Regions from separate parts of the Homo sapiens genome. Here region 2 is linked to region 1. The links are contacts of gene promoters, found by promoter capture Hi-C in blood cells and fetal thymus (Javierre and others, 2016). All regions are on one chromosome and are shown on one strand. The core of a region is centred on a gene start or on the middle of the fragment in contact, and the rest is flanking DNA. Distances in the headings are between cores, read along the strand shown. Region 1 holds the start of POMK (protein O-mannose kinase). Region 2 has its middle 11 kb from the start of POTEA.

Evidence for each region. Contacts are between HindIII fragments. The CHiCAGO score rates a contact against its expected background, and 5 or more counts as called.
Region 2: a fragment that was not itself captured here is called in contact with the fragment with the promoter of POMK in region 1 in 6 of 17 cell types (megakaryocytes, erythroblasts, endothelial precursors and 3 more); the score reaches 9.3 in megakaryocytes.

The regions. Positions count from the first base shown.
Region 1 is chr8:43,090,692-43,096,213 of GRCh38, reverse strand. POMK (protein O-mannose kinase) reads right to left here and starts at 2,699. Exons shown (of 5, transcript NM_032237.5): 1 at 2,651-2,699. RefSeq lists a silencer at 2,462-2,671 and enhancers at 1,923-2,828, 2,829-3,735, 5,070-5,259. The HindIII fragment of the contact is 4,326 bases long and covers 416-4,741 here.
Region 2 is chr8:43,278,415-43,283,897 of GRCh38, reverse strand. No RefSeq gene overlaps it. Among named protein-coding and RNA genes, the nearest start is that of POTEA, 11 kb to the left of the region's middle. The HindIII fragment of the contact is 1,023 bases long and covers 3,595-4,617 here.

The DNA.
Region 1 (5,522 bases), core at 1,450-3,949:
AGCTTTCCTCAAAGGCTCCCTTTCTGGGATACCCAGGCCCCGGCTTCCTCTAGATTCTGAGCACCAAGAAGCCTGCCTGCCTGTCCTGTTCACCACTGCACCCCAGTGCCTGGCACACAGCGGGTACTCGGCAAAGACGCACCAACTGCCTGGTCACTCTGCACCTCTCCCTCTTCATGGCCTCAGCCGCACAGGCTGCTTTCCCTCTCCTGTGTTCGCTCCACGGAATCCGCTCTTCCTCTCCTCACGGCTCCTGTCTTCTGAGGACCCTCATCTGCCACCTCCTTCTCCAATCCAAGTTTCCCAGCTCAAACCCTGCGATAAATCCTTTCAACCCTCCAACCCTCCTTACCCCTAACCTCCCACCAATCCTTCCTTGCCACTAGTGGATTCAGGTTTTATGGGGCCTGAAGCTTATACAAGTTGGGGCAAGGAGTGGTAATTCCTTAAGAGAAGAATAGTTATGAATGTAAAAGTGCTGAGCCTCTTGCCAGAGTTTTGGCAAGAGGATTTGTGCAAGGTTTTGGAAGGTATTTGTGCAAGTGAAGAGGCTAGAGGCTTCATCATAAACCCAGATCTGCTTGTCATTCACCAGACCCATGTAACTTGCCCTGTCCACTTCTTCATTTCCACTCAAAGGCTGCCAACATCAGCTACAAAACTCTGTGGGACTCTAGAAATGCATATTTTCTAATCTCTCTTGGACCCTCAGCATTACTCAGAAAACCTTTAATGCATTTCTTGCTGAATCCAAATTTCATATGCCCCAAAAACCTTTTATATATCCCTAAGTCCTCACATTCACTTCTGAATCCTCTCTCGGCAAAAACAAACCAAACCAAACCAAAACAAAACAAATAAAAAAAATACCCCAAAATTCATTTGACTTTTATACACTGTCAACTTCACACCAATTCTGTGAAGTGGATGTAATTGTTGTTATTCCCATTTCACAGATAAGACAACTGAGTCAGAGGTGAAGTAATATATCTAAGGTCACTGAACTATACACAGAAGAGCCAAGTTTTCTGGCCTCAAGCCCATTCTTCCCCTAAATACCGCAATGCTCGGGAGTTGAACTAAATCAAACCCAGCGTGGTCAGCTAGGGGCTGGGCTGGGGTACCCTGGGACTGCCGGTTTCTTAAAGAAGACTTCAGCCCACCTCAACCCCGATTTGCTTTTTTGTTTCACAGGCATATTCTGGAGTAGGCCGCCCAGAGCATAGCATGAGGCTGTGTGGCTAAAGGAACTTTCGTGTCCAGAAGTAAGCAAAAACCACTGAAATTTACTGGTCCTGAAAACAGCCTGCACATTAAGGAATAAAGATGGTGGGGCAGGTTGGGCAGAAGAAATTCAGGCACGACTGAAATGCAAAGCATTTCTGACACTGATAGGAAGGCTTATTGATAGAGAAAGGCTTGGGACCCACTGCTCCACATTTACAGCTTAAAAAGAAAAGAAAAGCAAAGGGACAAAACTAGTTTTTACCGACTTACAAGATATTTTCTACAACTAGGGAAGACACAGAGTAATGTCATCCAATACAGTTTAGAGTAGAATTCCATTGCGCCAATAAAGCACAAGGTACATTAAGAGGATTATTTTAAATATTCTGAACGCTTATTTAGCCTTAAGGTTCTATAGCAAAGGCAAAGGGTGGCAAAGACAAGATTATGCAACAAAACAGCGAAATTTTGCTTTCTAAAAAAAAGAGAATATGATTACACTTAACACCTCCTGGCAACAATGATCTCGTGCAGAATAAACACCCAAAGGCAAAGAGCTGAGACAGAGTCCTCGGTCCTTTCTGGTTTTTTTGTTTTTTGTTTTGTTTTGGTTTGGTTTGGTTTTTGTTTTTTTAAACAGAGACAGCCTCTGCCGGACCCAGTAGCTCACGCCTGTAATCCCAGCACTTTGGGAGGCAGAGGCGGGCGGATCACCTGAGGTCAGGCGTTCGAGACCAGCCTGACCAACATGGGGAAACCCCGTTTCTACTAAAAATACAAAAATTAGCCGGGCGTGGTGGCGGACGCCTGTAATCCCAGGAGCCAAGACCGCGCCACTACACTCCAGCCTGGGCGACAGAGCGAGACTCCGTCTCAAATAATAATAATAATGATAAAGTAATAATAATAGAAACAGCCTCTCACTCTGGCCCCCAGGCTGAAGTGCAGTGGCGCGATTTCGGCTCACTGAAACCTCCGCCCCCGCCGGGTTCAAGCATTCTCCCGCCTCAGCCTCCGGAGTAGATAAGACTATAGGCGGCGCCACCGCGCCCGGCTAAGTGCTTTTTTACGGAGACAGAAGTTCCGCCATGTTGCCCAGGCTGCTCTCGCCTGAGCTCACGCGATCCTCCCGCCTCGGCCTCCCAAAGCGCTGGGATTACAGGCTGGAGCCACCTCGCCGGGCCCTTCTCTGGTTCTTTAACGTCCCGCTACCGCGCAGGGGTGGACGCGGAGATAGGGGCTGGGCGCGGTGGACACGGCCGCTCAGGCCCAGCGCAGCCTCCTAGGGAGCCTCCGGACAGGCCGCGGGCAGGCGGCCGGGGCTGCGGGGGGTGCGGCCCAGGCCACGTACAGGGTCCCCCGGGAAACCCAGCTGCACGCCCCCTCGCCCCTTCGCCCTCTCACCCCTCGCCGCAGCACCTACCTGCAGCCCAAGCCTCTGCGGCTCCTGCCACCCCGGGCCAGCACGCACTGGGCCTACTGCGCTTGCGCGTTCGGAAGCGCGTCCTGGGCGGGTGAGCGTGGCGCTGCTGCCCCCTGGCGTCCTCCTCCGGCCGTGCACTGAAGCCGGAGCGAACGCCGCGGCGGTACCAGCGCGCACCTACCCAGTCTCCCTGTCTGGCTTCTGCTTCCCTAACTTGGGAGAACGATTTTGTGTTGACCGACTATTGCTTCAGCCTGGAGCCAGGCTCATGCAGAGCAGCTGTCAGATCTAGACGCACTGCGAGGCCTTCCAAAGCGTAGTCCTCAGACCCGCGGCATCTGCAGGGACCTTGCTGGAAAGGCTGATTCCCAGCTCCGGCCCAGACCCGCCACTCGGGGACCCAGATGCCTGAAGTTGGACAATCGCTCTGTAAAAGAAACTGTGGGGCTTAGCCTAGACGCAGTAAAGCTGAGCTGCACACATCAAGCGCAGCAGACAAGACCTTGGCAAGCCTCCGCGGAGGGGCAGGACTGGGCAAAGGCGGGGAAGTCCGTCGAGGGCCGGCCAGGAGCCCTGCCGGGAGCCCAACACGCACTCGGGCGCTTGCTCCGGGAAACCGAAAGGGAGGCTTGCAGCATCGAAGTCAGCTGGGTCATGGAACGTCTAGGTTGTGTACATCGGAAGCGTTAGCTGCTTCTACACTGACACACTGCGAAAGTCCAGAATCAAGACAGTAACATGGTGTGGGTTAAAAAAACTGAGCCGGTACTAGCTATCCAAACAGTATTAAAATTAACAGAAACGTTTGCCTATCACATGGACAAACAGCGGTAATACCTCCTGTCGTTACAGTAGAGTCTGAAAGTTTCCTCACACATACAAGTGAGTGTAAATTGGAATTCCTCCTACGTGCCCTAGCAAATCCATTTCTAGGAATTTATCCTTCAGAAATAACGTCTGTGGCCGGGCGCCGTGGCTCATGCCTGTAATCCCAGGACTTTGGGAGGCCGAGGTGGGCGGATCACGAGGTCAGGAGACCGAGACCATCCTGGATAACACGGTGAAACCCCGTCTCTACTAAAAATACAAAAAATTAGCCGGGCATGGTGGCGGGCGTGAGAATGGCGTGAACCCGGGAGGCGGAGCTTGCAGTGAGCCGAGATCGCGCCACTGTACTCCAGCCTGGGTGACAGAGCGAGACTCCGTCTCAAAAAAAAAAAAAAAAAAAAAGAAAAAGAAATAATATGTCTGCAAGATGTATGCACAAGAGATCTTGCTGAAGCATTGCTGATAAAAGATATTTATAATAGAGAAAAAAAGAAACCTGAATGTATAACAATAGGGGTTTCTGAAAGAAATTATATTACATCCACATAGCCATGAAAAATACTAACGGGTGCACAGTTTCAGTGTGAGAAGATGGTAAAGTCCTGGAGATGGATGGGGGTGATGGTTGCACAACAGTGTGAATATACACCAATAAATTGGGTGGAGGCCGAGAGCTCGGGGCCGTGAGCAAGCCTCCAACGCTCCGGTCCCCCGGACCCGCCTTTTAAACTCTTATTCTAATTCCTTTGTCTTCGCTGGACTCGGGGTACCCGCCGGGTGGTGTGGGGCTGGTTTCCCCAACAACTTCACTCTAGCCTGGGCAAAAGAGCAAAGCTCCGTCTCAAACAAACAAAGATAGAAACCAACCAGCAGCTCTCCTTGCTGAGTTCTTTGCCACGTGGCCACCATTTTGTGCCCACAGGCTTTTTGGGGGTGCTGGGAAAAGGTGAAATTTTAACACTGATGAAAAATTAGAGGAATTAAATTCAAACAAAAAATTAAAAATAAAAAGAACAGCAGAATTTGACGCACCATCAAACTGGTTGTGTCACCCATCTTCAAGCTGAAGGTAGTCCAAAGCCTGGAACTGAGTGTCGGGGGCACACACAGAGACTCGGGAGAAACCCTCTGATTCTGGCTCGTGGAGCAGAAAAGGAAACTCCTAACCCTCAGAGGGAGTGAAGAAAATTCCCTGTTCTTTCTATTTTCTTCTTTTCTTTGCACTCCAGCCCCCAGTCAAGCCCAAGGCCAGAGCAAAAAGCTTCAGCAGCCAAAAGTCTGAGGGAAAGAGATAGTCCTTTCCATTCAGTAGCACTGCAGCTCCAAGAGGACAGACACAAACTTGGTGTTTTGTTGTTTTTAACTGTTTCCCACTGCTGTGGCACAATTGTGGAAGTGGGCAGCTCCCCCAAGCCAAACTGAAAGTGGGAAGTTTCAGACCAGCGCACTGAAACCTGAGGGAACCTAAAAACACTGAGAAGATAGCGGAAGGTGAGAGCATCTGGCAAGCAACCTCACAGAGTTGTTTTTGAACTCTTGGGCTCATCGCTGACCTGCGTATCATCGACTTAACGAGCACACCAAACACTCAGAGAACTGTGCTCATGAACAGATTTTTGTTCAGGTACCAAACTACGGGAGGATGCAGCCACGAGACAGATCCAAATAGCCCCACAGAGGGTATGAACACAGAACTCACTTTGGAACATGAACCCCAGAAGAAGATCGGAACCTGCAGGCTGTCCCTAACTAGTTCATGTGCTTGCTTAAATTAAACTGTTGGCCAGGCGCGGTAGCTCACACCTGTAATCCCAGCACTTAGGGAGGGCAGATCACCTGAGGTTAGGAGTTTGAGACCAGCCTGGTAAACATGGTGGAACCCGGTCTCTACTTAAAAAAAAAAAAAAAAAAAAAATAGCCGGGCATGGTGGCGGATGCCTGTAATCCCAACTGCCCGGAAGGTTGAGGCACAAGAATCACTTGAACCCAGGAGGCAGAGGTTTCAGTGAGCCCAGATCACAGCACTGCACTCTAGCCTGAGTGA
Region 2 (5,483 bases), core at 2,857-5,356, 190 kb before region 1:
CCACATATTCTTTATCCAATCCACCACTGATGTAACCCAAGTTGATATCCTAAAATTCATATGGAACCAAAAAAAAGCCCAAATAGCCAAAGCAATCCTAAGCAAAAAGAACAAAGCTGGAGGTATCAGTATCATATTACCTGGCTTCAAACTATATCAAAAGAGCATGGTGCTGGTAAAAAACAAAACAAAACAAAACAACATAGCCCAGTGGAACAGAGAACCAAGAAATAAAGCTGCACACCTACAGCCATCTGGTCCTTGACAAAGTCAACAAAAATAAGCAATGGGGAAAGGACTACTTATTCAATAAATGTTGCTGGGATAGCTGGCTAGCTCTATGCAGAAGAATGAAACTAGACCCCTGCCTTTCATCATATACAAAAATTAACTCAAGATGGATTTAAGATTTAAATGTAAGATCTCAAACTATAAGAATCCTAGAAGAAAACCTAGGAAACATCATTCTGGACATTGGCCTTGGGAAAGAATTTATGAGTAAGTCCTCAAAAGCAATTGCAATGAAAATGTATATTGACAAGTGGGACCTGCTTAACCTGAAGAGCATCTGCACAGCAAAAGAAACTATCAACAGAGCAAACAGACAACATACAGAATGGGAGAACATATTCACAAACTATGCATCCAACAGAGGTCTAATATCCAGAATCTATAAGGAACTTCATTCAACAAGCAAAAACCAAATAAGCCAATTAAAAAGTGGACAAAAGACAGAAACAGGCACTTTTCAAAAGATGACATACAAGCGGCCAACAAACACATGAAAAAATGCTCAACATCACTGATCAAAGAAATGCAAATCAAAACTACAATGAAATACCATCTCACACTAGTCAGAATGGCTACTATGCAAAAGCCAAGAAACAATAGACGCTGGTGAGGCTGGGGAGAAAAGGGAACACTTATACACTGTTGGTGGGAATGCAAAGTAGTTCAGCCACTGTGGAAAACAGTTTGGAGATTTCTCAAAGAACTTGATACAGAACTACCATCTGATATAGCAATCCTATTCGTAGTATATATCCAAAAGGAAATAAAACATTTTACTAAAATGACACATGAAATGTTCATTGCTTTGGTATACAGAAAATAATTTGTACCTTCAGAAGCTGGATTCCAAATAAATTTGAAAAGTAAAATACATAAAAATAACAAATAACCAAGGTTAATAAATAGAATAAATTAAAAAACTGATATATTTAACTACCTAAAAATGAAAAAATAGATGTATCTACAAAAAATCAAAATTGAATGAAACAACAGGAAATATTTATGCTATATAAAGCAATCAGGCAATCAATTAGAAAAATTGTTATGGACACGGCAAGTTGATGAAACACATGGAAAATTTCCACATACTGTTAACAAGCACGTGGGAAAGTTTAATTACAGTAATAGTCTAACATAAAATTGTATAAATATTTCCAAAAAAGGATAACACATTGCTGGTGGATATCTGATAAACTGGTGTCAATGATTGCTGGGCAGAAAAAAAAGATGTTCCAATTCTGTTGGAAAACAATTTAGCAACATGTATCAATATCCCTTGACCTAGCATCTTTTTACCTAGTTTTGATTAGGCTGAAATTTGACTTAATTTTGCTTTCAAAATAAATTCTAAGAAAATTACCCAAAAATGGCTCATGCCTGTCATCCCAGCCCTTTGGGAGACTGAGGCAGGTGGATCACCTGAGGTCAGGAGTTCGAGACCAGCCTGACCAACATGGAGAAACCCCGTCTCTACTAAAACTATACAGTTAGCAGGGCGTGGTGGTGCATGCATGTAATCCCAGCTACTTGGGAGGCTGAGGCAGAAGAATCGCTTGAACCCGGGAGGCAGAAGTTGCAGTGAGCTGAGATCGCACTACTGCACTACATACAGCTTGGGCAACAAGAGCAAAACACCGTCTCCAAAAAAAAAAAAAACAAAAAAAAGGAAAAATAAGTAAATTACCCAAAAATATGGGGAAATTTTTATGTACAATAATGCTCATAATGACAAAAAATTAAAAAACCAAGTGGCCACAGGTATTAGAGAATGGGAAATGAATGAGAACAGTATAGAATATTATATTGTCACTACCCATGATGTTGACAAGGCACCTTCTATAATATGAGAAAATTCCATCACCAAAGTCTAATTGTTGCATGGGGACATTGGGTTCTCTTTCTTCCCTTTCTGTTTCTGCCCGTCTGTTTCCCACATTGTCTAACATGATCCTGGGGGACTTCTAGAACAGGAATATACTTAGTTGTGAGGAGGAAGGAAGCCAGCTCCAGTGTGTATTCTTGTGTGTGTCAGCGTGTTCCCGAGGCCAGGCAGCCTGGCAGTGGGAGGACCTAAGGTGAGTACATCCAGTGTCAGCAGCAGAGTGAGTTGTGACGAGTGTTTCTTCTCAGGCACTTCACTGAAGCGAAATGTTTTGAGATAGCTCTTCGAATCACGGCAATCAAGGCGTTGTTCTGAGACCGGCCCTGGAATTCCACCTCGGGCTCTCGCTCACCACCATGAGTGCTTTGGGTCTGGCTGTGATGTGTGCGTCTGTGTAAGGACCTGTGGAGGCGGATCCAGCCGTCATTCTTTCCCACACACCTTTGATCCGCTAAAGGGAGACTGCAAAGCCCATAGCCAAGGTACCCAGGCAGGGAGAGTTTCAGAAGGTGGAGCGGGAAGCGGGATGGGTCCCGGGCCGCTTTGCTAAATGAGTAGCAGTTAATTGGGCCTGTTAGGATCAGCAACTAGCTTGGGGCTATTCAGAGCTACTGACAGGGCCACCTTTGTCTCTGAACCAGGTCTTTATTGAACAATAAGGGTGCCGCCAGCCAGGGAGCAGTCCCTGCGGGTTCGCAGCAGGCCGCGGCACGTGGCCTGCTGAGCTCTCTGTGGATGGGATGATGGCGCCCTCCAGCGGGGAAGCGCAGCGTCGCCCGCTAGCTCAGGGCGGCATTCAGCAGGGACTCCCGCAGAGAAACTTTATTTCCCTTAGTCCCCATTATCAAGTTGTTTCTTTAACTAAAAATTACAAATTGATAAAACTAAGGGTTATATTTTGCTTTCAGACAGTGAAGGGAATATTTTAAAACTTCACTTCAGAAATGATCTACCAGTGTTGTTTTAAAGGTTAATAAGAGTGAAGTTTGGAAAATAAAACTTAGAAAACTCATCTCTGGGAAGTTTAAAAATTTTCCTCCTGCTTTTGATAGTTGAGAAGAAAATGTGTGCATTTCTGTGTCAGATCCTTAACCTTTTTATTTCTTCTTATTTATGTATTTATTTATTTTGAGACATAGTTTCCCTCTTGTCGCCCAGGCTGGAGTGCAATGGGGAGCTCTCGGCTCACTGCAACCTCCACCTCCCGGGTTCAAGTGATTCTCCTGCCTCAGCCTCCCAAGTAGCTGGGATTACAGGCGCGCCCCACCATTCCTGGCTAATTTTTGTATTTTTATTCAACACGGGGTTTCACCATGTTGGCGCCAGGCTGGTCTTGAACTCCTGACCTCGAGTGATCCACTCTCCTTGGCCTCCCAAAGTGCTGGGATTACAGGCCTGAGCCACCACGCCCTGCCTAAGCTTTATCTTTAATACTTATACAGACATGTAATTTCTTAAGTGGGTTCATTATTACTTTTTGCTCACTTTTCTTGTCACATCTGCACCTCTTTTTTGCATCTTACTACTACCTTAGAACCACCATGAAATTAGAGTAAAGTCTCGCTATTAAAGGAGCAGAAACAGTATTCTATACTTTTGTTATCTATTGGTAACATATTGATTAAATCGTATAGGCTTTTTTTTTTAGTAGAAAATACAGATAATCAATGTAAATGTTAAAACTACATAATCCTAACACCCAGAGGCACTACTTCATTGTGCTTATCTTAAGAAGTGAATTGATAATAGTAATATAAATTTTGGAGGACTGTTATCTAAAAACAGGAAAAAATACTTTTATCAACTAATACAAATGAAGAGATTCTTATAATTCTAATTGTAGTCAGTGAGACCTGTCTCTGTATAAAACATTTTCTAATGTTTAGAGATTAAGTCCTTCTGAGTAAAAGAAAAAGTAGAACGAGAACAATATGGAAGGCAAAAACCTCCCTTAAAACATAGCCATGCATTTCAGAGTTAATACAGTAATTACAATAAATTCAAGTTTCTGCAAATTTTGCTTTGATAGCAACAAAATAATAAATATTCTCTAACATTCCATTTCTAACAGTGTGGGCAAATGCAGAACACTAAAAAAAAAATTCTTGAAGATAATAATTTTGCCATCAGCACATGCCCTCAGTTACACAGTGTAACTCATTTTATAATATGCCTATTTCTCTAGAGGTCATGTATGAAGAAATCTCAACATTCCAGAACATAGTCTCTGAAACTAAAAACAAAAGTTGTTAAACAACAACTATCTGCCAAAAAGTCCATTTGCGTTACTTGATAAGAGAAATGGTGCCAGCCTTAGACCATTACCTAGATGATGATGAGTAGAATGACAGAAGATTCCAGCAGAAATAGAAAAACCTTTACAACATTCATCCTAATCTATTCCAAGTCATCAAAACAACAGTTCATGGTAATTAACACAAGCTTCACTGGCCCACCTAAAAATTATAGTAATATTCATAATGACACCATTGAGTCAGCAGGCAAAATATGTCTGAAGTACTCTAGTTAAAAAAATTAACAAAACCTATGATGCAATTTGAAGATGTTCATAAATGCATTAAAATGGCATTTTTGACATAAAAGATAAACTTACATGGGTCGCCCCCACAGAATAAAGGCAATTCTGCTATGGTGAAACTATTTTAATTAGCTCAGTCAACAAGTACTTGAGTACTTCCTACGTGGCACTAGGTGCCAGGTACTGGGATACAGCAGCAAATAAAACAGATGAAAACCCCTGTCCACAAGGAACTTATATTTCAGTGGAATGTACAAAACAGTAAGGGTGGTGTCTATTTATTTTTCCTTGTGTTGTGAAAACTCAGAGGTCTTTAAATCAGTGATTTTACTCTCACCTGATAGATGTAAAATAAGCACAAATGGAAGAGTTCTTAATCCTTTGTTTTAAAATCAAATTTTGACCGGTCTCTTTTAAAATACAATGCTAGAGGCAGTAAACAAATACTTCTTCATCAAAAATTCATAACTCTTCATCAAAAATTCAGAATATAAAAAAATTCAAAAGCTAGAGATTTTTCTCTAAGTTTAGAAATTGAGGTCCCTTTTTTTTGAAAAAGCACAGACAGCATTGTATTGGAATGGTGAGATTATGGGTATTTTTCTGGTTTACTTTCCAATTTTTCTGTAATGCTATGCATATTCAAAAATGAAGAAAAAGAATGGACTTTTAAAGAATGCTTGTTCTTTAAACACTACCAAGATAGTTAACTCATAACTTCTACCTAAAGAAATGAGTTCCACGTTATGAAAAGTTAAAGAGAAAATGGTA